Regions from separate parts of the Homo sapiens genome. Here all the other regions are linked to region 1. Evidence: promoter capture Hi-C in 16 types of primary human blood cells and fetal thymus (Javierre and others, 2016). All regions are on one chromosome and are shown on one strand. The core of a region is centred on a gene start or on the middle of the fragment in contact, and the rest is flanking DNA. Distances in the headings are between cores, read along the strand shown. Region 1 holds the start of C15orf61 (chromosome 15 open reading frame 61). Region 2 has its middle 14 kb from the start of RNU6-1. Region 3 overlaps MAP2K5 (mitogen-activated protein kinase kinase 5).

Evidence for each region. The method cuts DNA at HindIII sites, captures the fragments that hold promoters and counts their contacts. A CHiCAGO score of 5 or more calls a contact.
Region 2: a fragment that was not itself captured here is called in contact with the fragment with the promoter of C15orf61 in region 1 in 2 of 17 cell types (total CD8 T cells and naive CD4 T cells); the score reaches 7.2 in total CD8 T cells.
Region 3: a fragment that was not itself captured here is called in contact with the fragment with the promoter of C15orf61 in region 1 in 1 of 17 cell types (naive B cells); the score reaches 5.2 in naive B cells.

The regions. Positions count from the first base shown.
Region 1 is chr15:67,518,795-67,523,672 of GRCh38, reverse strand. It overlaps C15orf61 (chromosome 15 open reading frame 61), which reads right to left and starts at 2,542. Exons shown (of 2, transcript NM_001143936.2): 1 at 2,079-2,542. The coding sequence starts at 2,424. It overlaps IQCH-AS1 (IQCH antisense RNA 1), which reads left to right and starts at 1,829. Exons shown (of 6, transcript NR_040052.1): 1 at 1,829-2,154; 2 at 4,571-4,673. RefSeq lists enhancers at 2,116-2,235, 2,876-2,955 and a silencer at 2,346-2,695. The HindIII fragment of the contact is 4,154 bases long and covers 1-3,127 here.
Region 2 is chr15:67,851,635-67,856,512 of GRCh38, reverse strand. No RefSeq gene overlaps it. Among named protein-coding and RNA genes, the nearest start is that of RNU6-1, 14 kb to the right of the region's middle. RefSeq lists enhancers at 384-463, 2,561-3,116, 3,117-3,674. The HindIII fragment of the contact is 281 bases long and covers 1,979-2,259 here.
Region 3 is chr15:67,789,470-67,794,347 of GRCh38, reverse strand. All of the region lies in intron 21 of MAP2K5 (mitogen-activated protein kinase kinase 5), which reads right to left. Among named protein-coding and RNA genes, the nearest start is that of SKOR1, 34 kb to the left of the region's middle. RefSeq lists an enhancer at 2,625-3,494. The HindIII fragment of the contact is 1,653 bases long and covers 1,490-3,142 here.

The DNA.
Region 1 (4,878 bases), core at 1,293-3,792:
ATCAGTTCTTTGCATAATAATTCACTTTGAGTCAGCTGAACAGTAGGTAAACCACTGTCAAATTAAGCACTTTAAAAAATTAGAATTCCTCAGTAAATCTCATTCATTCCAATGGTAAGTTGCTTTTCTTAAATCTCAATCTACTTCTCAGCAGGATACCTAGACTGGTAAACCATCAGTAAAATGTCAGCTTCCATTGAAGGGAAGACGGAGGAGAAAAGGAGCAAATGGGTAAACAGAAATCTTTATTATTTACAAAATGGAAAAATGAATTTGGAAGGGAAGAAGAGGAACAAAATCCTAAGTATAATATTAATAGGATATGTACTTTATCACCCAGAGAGACGATTGTACCTCACAGAATAGGAAAGGACCTATTATCTAATTCACATCCCCTCTACCTTCAGACAAAAATTAAAAATAAACGTTACCAGATGTGTTCACCACTTTAAAATATTTTTTAATTCCCTTTATCAGTATATCCCAATTTGTATTAAAGCATGCATGAGCAAAAAGTTGTCCTTTTTGCTTAACTTAGAACTCTTACTCCCATTTTAGCAGGATTTTTAGAATGTCCAAAAGACCATACAGACCATTAAATCACTCTCCCACATTAATAAACAAAACAAAACAAAAAACACTACAACTGTTGTTTCTTTCAACTTTAAAAGGTTTTACTTTTCTATGTGTGGAATGTTCTGAGTATCCACTTTTTTTGGATGTCTTAATCTCTAAATCTAAAAGAGAGGCCCCTAATCATTAAGGTGCTCTTAAACAAAATGTCAACACTAAAAATGTGACTTTAAAGGAAAAAAAGGCATTTGGCTCATGGTTTACCTATAACTCTCCCGTTATGCTTTTCCTAACCTATTATTCTTTAGGGAAGAATGATTTCTTACTTATGAAAAATGCTAAAATAAACTTATACTTCTCGAATCTAGTTAACACTCCAGTCTTTCCAAATAATTTCGAATTGAATTTCCTAAGTCACCTCACCCTTCAACTTCAACCAACCTCCAAAGTAGTGGGCATGCTCTATACAGTCCATCAGCCAAATAATAAGAGGCATTTTTAAAGGATAACACGTTGCTAAACAATTATCTCCTTACAGGACAGTCCAGTGGAGTAACGGCTCAAAAAGCCCACGACTGACATATGTGTTATTATAAGCACAAATACACAGACTATTTTTAACCTTAATGGACGATCAGATTATGTAATAGTATTAGTAGTACGGCTGCGCAGGGTTTAGTTTTAATCCTGGCTTTAAAAACCTGGCTGGGTAACATGGTTCATTCAGCTCCATGGCTAGATTTTGAATCACTGAAATCTAGATTGATTTTATGCCAGCTATTAGTAAGTTCAAAACATCTTGAGGCCTTCTGTTTTCCCCTGACCTATAAAAGATACACCCATGTCCATGTTCGTACCTCCCTCTTCTGTCATTAAACCAAAAGAAAATAAACACCTAGTGACAGTAAACATCCTCAGGGCGTCTCCATGAAAATATACAAATATTAAAGATCTTTAAAAATCTTTTAGGCCTAGCACCTCAGGAAGCTGTTATGTCTGGTGAAAACCTTTGGTGCTTTTAGTAAAACGAACTTGCCGGGAATTCATACAAAGAAAACAAAAGAAACTTAAAAGAGTAGTTCCAGTTATTGCAACATAAACGCAGCTGCAAAGTGATGTTCACGGGAATGAGTCCTGCCATGCAGTAGGACGGATGTCAACTTCAGAGCCACTTTCTAGGGGGCGTTTCCTGACGCCCCCTGGCTTACTGCCCAGGCCAGGGGTCTACTCTGGTTAACATGGGCAGGACAGGAGGGCGACCCGCCCCTCCCTAGGCCCGAGGACGCGCCCGCAGCAGGCGAACGGCTTCGGGTGCCAGGAGCTCAGCAAGCTGGGGACCCCCTGGGCGAGGAGTACAAAGGACCCCAGGCGAAGCCGGCGCCGGGAGGCAGAGCTGACTCCCGCGGGACTCTACCGGCCTGCGAGCGTTCGTCACGTGCTCGGTGGCTGAGGGGCCGTCCCGGCCGGGCGGGCTTCACCGCGTGGGCGCGGCAGTCGCCACTCACCGAGGTTGACGACCTTGAGCGCCGTGAAGAAGCGGTTCTGCCGGGCCAGGTCCTGCCAGGGAGCCTTGGAGCAGTGGTACTTGATGAAGGGGAAGCAGCCGGTGCGCAGGACGTGGTAGTTGGCGCCCTGCACCGGCCAGTTGAAGTGCGAGAGGCCGAACTGGTCGTTGCGGACGGCGCTGTAGGGCACGCAGAAGGAGGTCCAGTGCGGCAGGCGCCGCTGCAGCAGATGCCGCGTCAGCACCTCCGAGGCGCTGGGCTTGGGGCGGGCGGCGGCGCGCGAGGCCCACGGCCTACACAGCAGCAGGCGGAGCGCGACCTCGTGGGCCCTCCTCAGGGCCTCCATGGCCCGCCGCGCCGGGGACGCAGGCTGGTGTCCGCAGCCGCTGGCGCGCAAGCGCGCCCCCGGGCGAGCGCCGGGAAGGCCAACCGGCGCCGCGCGGGTGCCCGAGAGCCCCCGGTGTGCGGCGGCGCGTGCGCACAGCGGCCCCGTGGCCTCCCGCTGGGGGTGGAGTCCGGGGGATGGGAAGCGTGAGCTGCGCGAGGCGGAGGGTCACCTGCGTCAAGGAGCTGGTTTTGAGTGGCCAGGTGTGACCTCACGCCGTCATTAGTAACTCGGGCAGGGGAGGGATTCGGGGAGGTCTCATCAATTTGGGCCTGAGGAAAATTCAGGTGGAAGACAATTAAATAACTAACCACCTCCGCAAGGTGCAGAACTCAAACCCAAGTCTCCCTCCCACGCCCTGGGCTCCAGGGAAGCCCTTGGGTGTTGTTGTTGAAACAGGACGAGGCGTGACCCCGGGTCTGCGTTGTTTGGTAAGGCCGGGAGCACTTTTGTGTGTAGGTCCTCGCTGTCGGGTTCACTGTTTAAAATTAGTCCCAGAGATTTCAAAATCAAAAGTTTATTTAAAAACCTCACGTGTCTCAGTGCAGCGTCCGAACACACAAAGGCACCTCCCTCTAAGAACCTGGTAGACGGACCAGGAGCCTCTTATCGAGCTTTGTGGACCTCAGTCACCCATTACCAATCCATTACTTTCGGAAAAGCTTTGCTCAAACTTTGCGGCCTCTTGAGGCAGTAACTTACGGACAAAACTGCTTTTAGAAAAGGATTTCCTCTTTTGTCCTAAACTCATTTTGTTTGGAGAGGCCATACATAAACAAGATGATGTGTCTGAAACCACCTTATGTAAATGAGGTACAGTAATTACGCGTTAAGCATCATATAACAATTACTATCGTTGCTAAAAACTCAAGGGGGATGTAGGATAGTATGGCGAAATTTTATATTCCCCAGTTTTTTGTTTTGTTTTGTTTTGTTTTTTTGAGACGGAGTCTCACTCTGTTGCCCAGGCTGGAGTGCAGTGGTGCAATCTCAGCTCACTGCAACCTCTGCCTCCCAGGTTCAAGTGATTTTCCTGCCTCAGCCTCCCGAGTGGCTGGGATTACAGGCGTGCACCACCACGCCTGGCTAATTTTTGTATTTTTAATAGAGACGGGGTTTCACCATGTTGGCCAGGCTGGTCTCAAACTCATGACCTCGTGATCCACCTGCCTCGGCCTCCCAAAGTGCTGGGATTACAGGCGTGAGCCACTGCACCAGGCCTATTCCCCAGTTTTTATTGAACATTGAGCACCCACCAACATATGCCGAATCTTGAACTTTACCTTACAGAATTTGAAGTTGAACTTTACCTTATAGAACTTGAACTTTATAGAATTTCTTTTTCTTTTCTTTTTTTTAGAAAGGATCTCACTGTTGTCTAGGCTGGAGTGCAGCTGCTCGATCTCGGCTCACTGCAACTTCTGCCTCCTGGGCTCAAGAGATCCTCCCACCCTCAGCCTCCCAAGTAGCTGGGACTGCAGGTGTGTGCCACCTACACTCGGCTGCTTTTTTTGGTATTTTTTGTAGAGGTGGAATTTTGCCATGTTGCCCAGGCTGGTCTTGAACACTTGGGCTCAAGTGATCCGCCCGCCTCGGCCTCCCAAAGTGGTGGGATTACAGGTGTGAGCTTCTGCACCTGACCAAATTAAATTTTGAAAAAGAGTGGAGTCCTTTTTCAAACGAAATCTGTTGAAGGTCCCCAACATATAAAGTTGGTTAAAACTTATGCTTTAGGCCGGGCACGGTGGCTCACGCCTGTAATCCCAGCACTTTGGGAGGCCGAGGCCAGTGGATCATCTGAGGTCAGGAGTCCGAGACCAGCCTGGCCAACATGGCGAAACCCTGTGTCTGCTAAAAATAGAAAAATTAGCCGGGCGTGGTGGCACATGCCTGTAGTCCCAGCTACTCGGGAGGCTGAGGCAGGAGAATCACTTAAACCCAGGAGGCAGAGGTTGCAGTGAGCTGAGATCGTGCCACTGCACTCCAGCCTGAGCGACAGAGCGAGACTCCGTCTCAAAAAAAAACAAAAAAAACAAAAATAACTTATGCTTTATTACTAAGCATAAGTTCAAACTTTTTTTAACTTTTTATTTTACTTATTTTTTAGGCGTGGGTTCTCACTATGTTGCTTAAGCTGGTCCAGAACTCAAGCCAGTCTCTCACTTCAGCCTCTTGAGTCGTTGGGATTACAGAAGCCACCATGTCCAACTGTAAGTTCAAATTTTTTATATTAACTTTATAGATAAAAAACAAAACAATGAAACTTCAGTGTGTTGTTGTCTTGGATTTTCTTTTGTTTTGAGCAGAAAGGGGATTCATTGGAGGAAAATTAGGTAGCCCAAATAGTAAACAAGAAGTCTAGAGAACCAGGCTCAGAAAATGGGAAGGAACGAGGAGAGTCCGAACAGCAAAGAC
Region 2 (4,878 bases), core at 870-3,369, 330 kb before region 1:
AGTGGAGCCTGCAGGAAATGTGGAAACCATTTAAACACAGAGTATCAAATAAATAATGATAAACATGGCTAAAATTTGGATCCCAAATTTAAAACCAATTTTTTGTAAAAAGAAGACCTATATCATTTTAAAAAAGAGAGGTGTGATAACCTAGGCCTCTAATGAAGAGATATGGAAGGAGGGCCTGAAAAACTTCTCACTTTATATTGGAAGGGAGGCAAACATGGTAGATTTATTTTCAATCTGATAGAGAAACATGGTGTGTTAGGATGTTCTTGCATTGTGTAAAGAAACACCTGAGACTGGGTAATTTATAAAGAAAAGAGGTTTAAATGGCTCATGGTTCTACAGAGTGTACAGGAAGCCTGGTGCTAGGCATCTGTTTGGCTTCTGGGAAGGTCTCAGGAAACTTTTACTCCTGGGAGATGGCAAAGGGAGAGCTGCTGTTTCACATGGCAGAGCACGAGCAAGAGAGAGCGTGGGGGAGGTGCCACACTTTACAACAACCAGATCTCATGAGAACTCACTATCTCCGGGAAAGCATCAAGGGATTTACCCCCATGACTCAAACACCTCCCACCAGACCCCACCTCCAACATTGGGGATTACATCTCAACATGAGATTTGGAGGGGAAGTCCAAACTATACTACATGGGTTCAAAAAAGTTTTTAAAAATCTTCAAGGTGTTGGCAGAATTAAAACAATAGGCTATATAGCTATATACTTTTCAAATTACAGAAGATAAAAACAAATCATCAGCCAGGTACAATGGTGCACCTGTACTCCTAGCTACTCAGGAAGCTGAGACTGGAGAATCATTTGAGACCAGGAGTTCAAGTCCAGCCTGGCAACATAGCGAGACCATGACTCTAAAAAAATACATCATCGGCTGGGCACGGTGGCTCATGCCTGTAATCCCAGCACTTTGGGAGGCTGAGGCAGGTGGATCACAAGGTCAGGAGTTCAAGACCAGCCTGGCCAAGATGGTGAAACCCTGTCTCTACTAAAAATACAAAAATTGCAGGGCGCGGTGGCAGGCGCCTGTAATCCCAGCTACTTAGGAGGCTGAGGCAGGAGAATCACTTGAATCCAGGAGGCGGAGGTTGCAGTGAGCTGAGATCGCGCCACTGCACTCCAGCCTGGGCAACATAGCGAGATTCTGTCTTAAAAAAAAAAAAAAAAAAGGGCCAGGCGCGGTGGCTCACGCTTGTAATCCCAGCACTTTGGGAGGCCGAGGTGGGCGGATCATCAGGTCAGGAGTTCGAGACCACCCTGGCCAACACAGTGAAACCCTGTCTCTACTAAAAATACAAAAATTAGCTGGGCATGGTGGTGGGCGCCTGTAATCCCAGCTACTTGGGAGGCTAAGGCAGGAGAATCGCTTGAACCCGGGAGGTGGAGGTTGCAGTGAGCCGAGATTGTGCTACTGCACTCCAGCCTGAGCAACAGAGCTAGACTCCATCTCAAAAAAAAAATAAATAAATAAAAAATACATCATCATGCAATTTTGCTTATCATAGAAGGCAAAAACAAAAACAAACATGAAAAAGAGAAGGCATAAACCAAAATAAAAGAAATAAAACCAAACATGCCAACATAAAAATAAACGCATGATACTAAAAGCCAAAGACCTTCAAACTGGGTTAATACGATTTAAGTACTACAAGGTATCTATATTACTGTGTATCAGATATTTTGAAATAAAACCGCACTCTTTCCATCTGTAGGGTCCCTGCATTAGGCGAGCGTGCCTTTTAGGCCACCTCCTCATCAGTCCTGCCCTGCTCCCTGCTCAGAGGTACTGAGTGCCACAGTGTCCCCACAGACACAGGCAGAGACAGTCTAACGGAAGGGGTGAGGGTGGACAGAAGTGACTGCCTCAGAAAACCATACTTGAGTGTTAGGAGTGTGCTGCCCATTTGCTGGTGAGTGCAGCCCTGTACAGTGAATGAGGGCCTAAGCTTCTCCCTGCAAGCTTCCTGTCTGCAGGTTCTGGGCCACTTTAGAGGGCAAAGTATGCACAGGCCACCTACCATGTGACTTCCCCCAGCCCCAGTGGCAGGTTATTAGGGAAATTTCCATCTTGGACTCTGGCCAACAACTGACCACTAAGTTTTCTGAATGGTTCTCAGTTTTTGTCTTTTTCTGTGTCTCAAGTAGCTTTCGAATTTAAGTTGGAAGATGGCACATCAAGGAAGTTTGATCTGTGGTCATCTTAACTCTTGAAATCCTCTTATCTGTCCTTTGTAACAGAAGCTTTAAAGAAAAAAATGTGTCTATTAAGGCCAGGTGTGGTGGCTCACACCTATAATCCCAACACTTTGGGAGGCCAAAGTGGGAGGATCACTTGAGGCCAGGAGGTTGATGTTATAGTGTCGCCTAGGCGACAGAGCAAGAACTTGTCTCTATAAATAAATAAATAAATAAATAAGATTTAAAATTCAGGTGCTGTGCCAGGTGCTGGTGATACAGGAGACAGAAAGAAATTATTCAGGCAGATCGTGAGGGTAAGAGTCCTCGGCAGAAATTCCCTTTCAACAAAAAGCAGCCCAAAATCATTGCTTTTCTAACAAAGAGCAGCCTGAAAAATCGAGCTGCAAACAGATAAGCAAGCTGGAAGCTTGCACGGGCGAATGCCAGCACCTGTGCCAATAGAAAAGGGTTACCTGAGGGCCAGGTATGTTCAATATGGAGGCTTCAACTTCCCTTTTGTCACCATGTGTACAGTAAAGGAACAGGCAACATGGTGCCAGCCAGGTAGAAAGCTCATCTGCATAATAAAAGATTAGGGTGGGGGTGGCCAGACTTTTACACACTATGCAAATAGCATACCTAGTCCTAACCACTTTTTCATGCCTTATGCAAATGGCACACCTGGTCCAAGCACTCTTTCGTGCTCTATGTAAATCAGACGCTACCTTCTCAAGCTCATCTATAAAACCCTGCATTTCACTGTGGACTGGAAACCTGCTCAGGACCCCTCTCCTTGTAGGAGAAAGGTTTTCTCTTTCTTTCGCCTTTTTTTTTTTTTTTTTTTGAGATGGAGTCTCACTTTGTCACCAGACTGAAGTGCAGTCGTGTGATCTCAGCTCACTACAACCTCCACCTCCCGTGTTCAAGTGATTCTCCTGCCTCAGCCTGTAGCTGGCACTACAGTCGTGCACCACCACACCCAGCTAATTTTTGTATTTTTAGTAGAGACGGGATTTCATCATGTTGGCCAGGATGGTTTCGATCTTTTTGACTTCGTGATCCACCCACCTTGGCTTCCCAAAGTGCTAGGATTACAAGTGTGAGCCACCATGCCTGGCCTCCTTCTATTAAACCTCCGCTCTCAACCTCACTCCTTGTGTGTCCATGTCCTTGATTTCCCTGGCATGAGACAATGAACCTCAGGTATCCCCCCAGGCGAATGGTGCCACTTCACTGGGAGTACAGCAATGAATAAAGTCTGGCCCCTCACAGCTGGGTTCATGGTCTGGGAGGTGGCAGGGGAAGCAAACAAGTAAACAACTAACTCTAAACAAGGCAGAAGAAAATCAGCACTAAATATAGGCATCTGAGTGGGAAGAACAGGGAGGCGGGAGCAATTAATGAGGGTGAAGGAGTGAGAGAAACCTTTATGGCGGGTTTTCAGGGCCTCACTCTAAGCCCACAACAGTAAATTATCAATGGAGGCAACAGTCCATGCACCCAAAGTGCTGTAAGCACTTGGAGCCTGGGTCACCCAGGGGCAGCTCGGCCCCTCTGAGGGAAAGGGACCCTCCCCTGGGGCAGGGAGACTGTGACCCTTGGCAAGGGTGTGGGGAGGGGACAGATGATGGGCCAGATTGGCCCCAGGGGGTGAAATGTTGCTACTGATCAGAGGCGTCAGTTGTAGGCACTTTCTCAGTCCCAGGTTGGAGGGGGGAAGGAAAAAGATAAGGGGCTGCCAGCTCCAGGAAATGAGGGTGAGGTTCTCAGCTAAAAGGGGAGGAGAGAACGAGCATTTATTGAGTGCCTCAGGTGCCTGGCATCACAAAATTATTATCTAATGTTTGTAACAGCAAATTTTTTCTTTTCTTTTCTTTTCTTTTTTTTTTTTTTTTTTGAGACGAAGTCTTGCTCTTGTCCTCCAGGCTGGAGTGCAGTGGCACAATCTTGGCTCACTGCAGCCTCTGCCTCCTAGGTTCAGGTAATTCTCATGCCTCAGCTTCTGGAGTAGCTGGGATTACAGGCGTGTGCCACTACACTGGCTAATTTTTGTATTTTAGTAGAGACAGGGTTTTGCCATGTTGGCCAGGCTGGTCTCGAACTTCTGACCTCAAGTGATTCTCCTGCTTTGGCCTCCCAAAGTGCTAGGATTACAGATGTGAGCCAACACACCCAAACTAACTGCAAATATGTATTGAGCATCTACTATGTGTCAGATACTGTTTCAGGCACTAGGAATACAATGGGGAGCAAAACAAAAATCCTGCTCCTCCTCATGCACAAATACTTGACATAATTTCAGTGATAAATACTTATCAACAGTATTAAGTACTGTAAAGAAAAATAAATGGAAAAAGAATGAAAGGAGGTACTTAGTCCATTTCACAGTGCTATAAAGAACTACCTGAGGCCAGACACAGTGGCTCATGCCTGTAATCTTAGCACTTTGGGAGGCTAAGGTGGGTGGATCACTTGAGGTCAGGAGATCAAGACCAGTCTGGCCAACATGGTGAAACCCCATCTCTACTAAAAATACAAAAATTAGCCAGGCATGGTGGTGGGTGCCTGTAATCCCAGCTACTCAGGAGGCTGAGGCAGAAGAATCACTTGAACCCAGGAGGTGGAGGTTGCAGTGAGCCAAGATTGCACCACTGCACTCCCAGCTTGGGCGACAGAGGGAAACT
Region 3 (4,878 bases), core at 1,067-3,566, 270 kb before region 1:
TAAAAATCATCAATAGAACTCACTCTTAGCCTTGAGCAATATTTTCTAAAACAAAACACAAAGAACCTGTGGTATTTAACTATTCTGTTATTGATTTACTGTGGTTTCCAAGGTAATGTTGAAGAAAATTAAATGTACAGAAGCCTGAAATGCGTTTTTGATGGTGGTGACTGGTGTGACCTGCATTTTCCAAGGTGGTGTCACTGGTCATGGGCAGAATGAATGACTGAGGGAGCACACTTTGGTTACAAATAAGCTGGCCACCTTCACTGCAGAGCCTCATGAAACCAAAGTCTATTTCCACTGTTAAGAAAGACAAGTTATTCAGTTGCAAGCTTCCTTCTAATGGTAGCTGTGTCTATTTTACCAAGGGTCTTTAATTCAATAAGATTCACTATGGATGTGTGGAGCGGTTTCTATGTGCCTAGATCTAAGTCTGGTTTTAGAACCTAAGGACTTTCCCTGGCACATTCATGACTCTTTGGTCCTCTCAGAAAATAAAACCTCAACAGTTTGAAGTCCACCTTAATTACTGATTCAAGATCAAAATAATCATATTGCTTCAAACTTGGACATTTATATACAACGTGATCAAAGAGTATATTTTCTATACAGTGAAATGGCCAGTTTCCAAATCTAGGGGCACTTTACAATCTATAGACCACTATACTTTGACACCCTTATCTCAGACTAAGAATATGGAAGTTAAACTAGAACTTGAACATTTTAATTTTAGGTAGTGCCTCAAGCTTTTCCTTAAGCCAGCTTTCTTGTATTTTAGACTTGATTCTAACAAGCTTAGTATCTGATTTCCCAATTAAAAGCACAAGAGAAACAGCCAAATAGAAGGAGAAGACGAAGGTGTGTTAAAGGGAGGAACAAGAACAGCAGCAAGAAATGACATCTACTAGCAAAACTATACAACAAAAACAAAAAACCAGCTTGGGGTCAACCAGCCTAGGGACAAATGGCCCTACTCGTGTCAATATCAGGAGATACTGGTATAGAACATGGCAAATAGACAATGTCCATAATAATGAGCTAAAGAATTTTTTGTTTTTTTTTAGAGATGAGGTCTCACAGTGTTGCCCTGACTGGAGCACAGTGGCTATTCACAAGCACAATCATTCCGCACTACACCTTTGAACTCCTGGGCTCAGATGATCCTGTTTCAGTTTCCCGAGTAGCTGGAAGTAAATTTAACTTTGTAAAAAATTAAATCCTGATGCATGTAATCTGTTTAAGAGGATAGAGCAGTGTTATAACACATTTAAGACCTCTTGCTTGTAATTTTTTAAAGTTTGATTTTATAAAGAATACACTACAGTTATCTGAATAATTTTCTTACATGGAGCAGCTCATCCACCTATGATGTTGCCATGTGAGTTTTAGAAAATCCATATTAAACACAATGAAGGCTCTCACTTTGCCCACTTTTCTGTAAAGTTTGCCATGAAGCACCATGTGATCTCACGGGGACAGACAAGCTTGCCGATCCTCTGAATTCATTAAAGACATACGGGGCCGCTTTGGGCCCAAGTTTACCTTGGCTTCTTTGCAGAGAGTTTGATTACTTTTAAGATTTATGGTCAAAGCGGGGGGCGGAAAAGAAATATCTCACAGAGCAGATTTACAACTTCATCTTGATTTTTAATACCATTAGGGATGACATCCAATGACATAATCTTGGAATGACTGCAGGGTGACTCAGAAACTCAGTGGGAAGTTTTATATTTTAGGGTCTGGAGCATTTTGTAGTTGCAAGGTCAGGTAGGAAAGGACCAGGGAAATGAGCCAGAGAGACGGTCAGAGAGTGAGTGTCAGCTGGTTTAATTTTCTGTGTCAACCCCGAAAATTAGATAAACAATGACAAACCAGGCTTTTTAAATGAACTTGTCACTTCTGGTTTTCTTGATACAGAGCAACATTTTTCAAGTCCTGGTAGCCCCAAAGACAGATTTAACCCCTGAGAGGTGTATCCAAGTGTTTCAAAGACCTCACATCTAAAAATAAAAGGTTTAGTCTAACCCTATACCCCTTAAGAGAAAAACTAATTATCCTTGAAATTTAAATACTCTTCTCATAACAATTAAGGGGACTTTGCCTAGAGCCAGAAGGTCCAGTCTTTTGCAGGAGGGTCTTAGCAACGTCCTAGTTTTTTTCTTTCCACCAGACCAACTCAACCCTTCAACACAGTTCCTTTGATCTTAACCTCCTTTTGCAAACCTGACCTCCCACCACTGTTCTAAGCAATACTGTCCACATTGAGCAGGTATTGGCTCTCTTCTCACCAATGCAGGTGAGCAGAGACCTGGCCCTGCCCCTCCTCTGCCTGGTGCTCTGTCGTTATGAAGAGGTAGGAGGTAAGAATTGCCCTGACTTTTATATGCTTTGTGCTATTTTAAGTCTTTGTTGCAGCCATGACATTCTCCCTGGTGGTGAGGGGAACAGATCAGTGAATCTTCCTAATAGCTGCTCCTACTGCCTTTGCTGTAAGGATATTTATTTAAAGACAACCCAGTTTGAATATGTTGATTTGGAGAGAGAAATGCTTATATTTACTGATACCAGCATTTGAGTAGTGGTTTTCATTCTACAACCGGCTTTCAAGCTCATTATCTTATTTCAGTGTCACAACAACCCCATAAAGCAGCTGGATGGCATTACTGTTACTTCCCTCAATTTGTGGATTTGGCCAAGGTAGAGCTGGGATTTGCACTGGATGTCAGCTCCCAAACCTGTGCCTTTTGTGATGATGTGCAATATAATAGCAGCCAGTTGTGAGCACTTACCCTGTGCCAGGTGCTCACTAGGTGCTTTCATTTACATTAGTTCATGTGATCTCCAAAAGCCCTATCAGAAAGTAAATGATAACCTATTTTATAAACAAGGACACTGCACTCTAAGATGGTAATGATGCCTGAGCCCAAGTTTCTTGAGGTTCTTGGCCTTCACAGGTCAGTCTTTCCCCACACTCCACAAGTGGTCAAAACAAGCCCCTGCATAACAAAGTCAGAGTCTGCCTTAGAGAAAATATGAAACAGGTGATTTGAAGCCCTTTGATCCTTCAGTCTTTGCCTCATCCCTCAACTCCAATGCCCCTTTTCCTGTTTAATGCAGAAGAGTCTCCTCTTCCAAAGCTTCAAAGTCATCTTATGCCAGCTAACTGCTGACATTAAGCCAATTCACAGGAAAGTATGAATAACTTAAGAAGGGCACTAGGGCCATGTGCATTTGAAAAGAAGATGCTTGGCTCCTGCCCAGCTGCAGCTCGGATGTCTCACAGGTGGACTATTCATGGCGTGAGGAGCTCTCTCTGGGTAGACAGGTAATAATTTACCTGTGGTTTCCAGGAGTCCTATGGATTTCATTCTCTACAACACAGCTTATTCCCCCTAGCTCTGACTCGTCTTCTGTAAAATATGGAGAACAGCATCAACCTCACAGGACAGTGTGTGTGAAATTCCCAGCCCAGAGGCAGTTCCATAGTCATAACTATCAGTGGCCTAAATTTTGCAGTACTTATCATACTCCTTTTCTAAGGAAACTTTTATAACACCTAACACATGTTCAGCACTAAGTGTGGCAGACATTAGGACACAGGTTTTTTTTTTTTTGTTTGTTTGTTTTTATGTGACTGGCTCTCCTGACAGCTGCAGTAGAGAATTAAAGGCTGCTCTCCACATCTTAAAGACCCTCACCACTCAGTAAGCAGCCCCTCCTCTGAGCCTCAGCCCTAAAGACCCAACTTGCTCCCCATTTAAAACAAGAATGAGCAGACTTCTGGGTTTAGAATTCCATGTAACTAAACCACAAAATAGAAAAAAGGAATCCCAACTGTTGCACTTGTGCACAGCCTACAGACAAGACGGCAGTGCCCTCAGACAGCATTTCAAATACAGTTTATTAGTGTGTGATATGAAAAGGGTATTTTTATTGCATGATATAATGCAATGGGACCTTGGGCGCTCTGTGGAAAGACCTCACACTCAGAAGTGTAATGAACCCGTAGTCCCAAAAACATTATACTGTACATTAACCTATCATTAATGGCACATTAGGGCTAGGGGCATTGCACGCTTGCTGGTCAGGGCTCCATCAGGACAGTGTTGAGAAAACCACACAGTCTTCCCAGGCTTAAAACAAATAGAAAAAATAAATATTCCTGATGTCTACAGGCTGCTTTAAAGGAAGTTCAATCCAGCTCTGCCTTGCAATTTCCAAGCCTGCTTTTTTAAGAGTGGAAGAAAGATACACAACCAAACAAAGGGAAAAGAAAACGACTCTCTTGTAGTTTACCCCCAGCTATTGGCTATTCAACCTCAATGTTGCTTGACAAGGTCATGAGCAAATAGCACCTTGGTAGTGTAAAAGCTGCCCAAAGGACACTCGGGCCTGGACCACAGACTGCAGAAGTGGGATGGGGCCTTGGAAATTGTGTCCACCCCCTTCACTGTCTAGATGGAAAAATCAATCTTCAACAAGATGAAGGAAGAGACAACACATTCAACAGAAAAACAGGCAAAGAATGTGAAAAAAAAAATGTGACCAACAAACATATGAAAGAAGTGTTAATCCTCATACTTAATAAAATAAACATAAATTAAAATGATTAGATCCTTTTTTTTTTTTGAAACAGAGTTTTGCTCTTGTTGCTCAGGCTGGAGTGCAATGGTGCGATCTCGGCTCACTGCAACCTCCACCTCCCCGGGTTCAAGCAATTCTCCTGCCTCAGTCTCCAGAGTAGCTGGAATTACAGGGTCCCCCCACCACACCCAGCTAATTTTTGTATTTTTAGTAGAGACAGTGTTTCACCATGTTGGCCAGGCTGGTCTCGAACTCCTGACCTCAGGTGATCCACCTGGCCTCCCAAAGTGC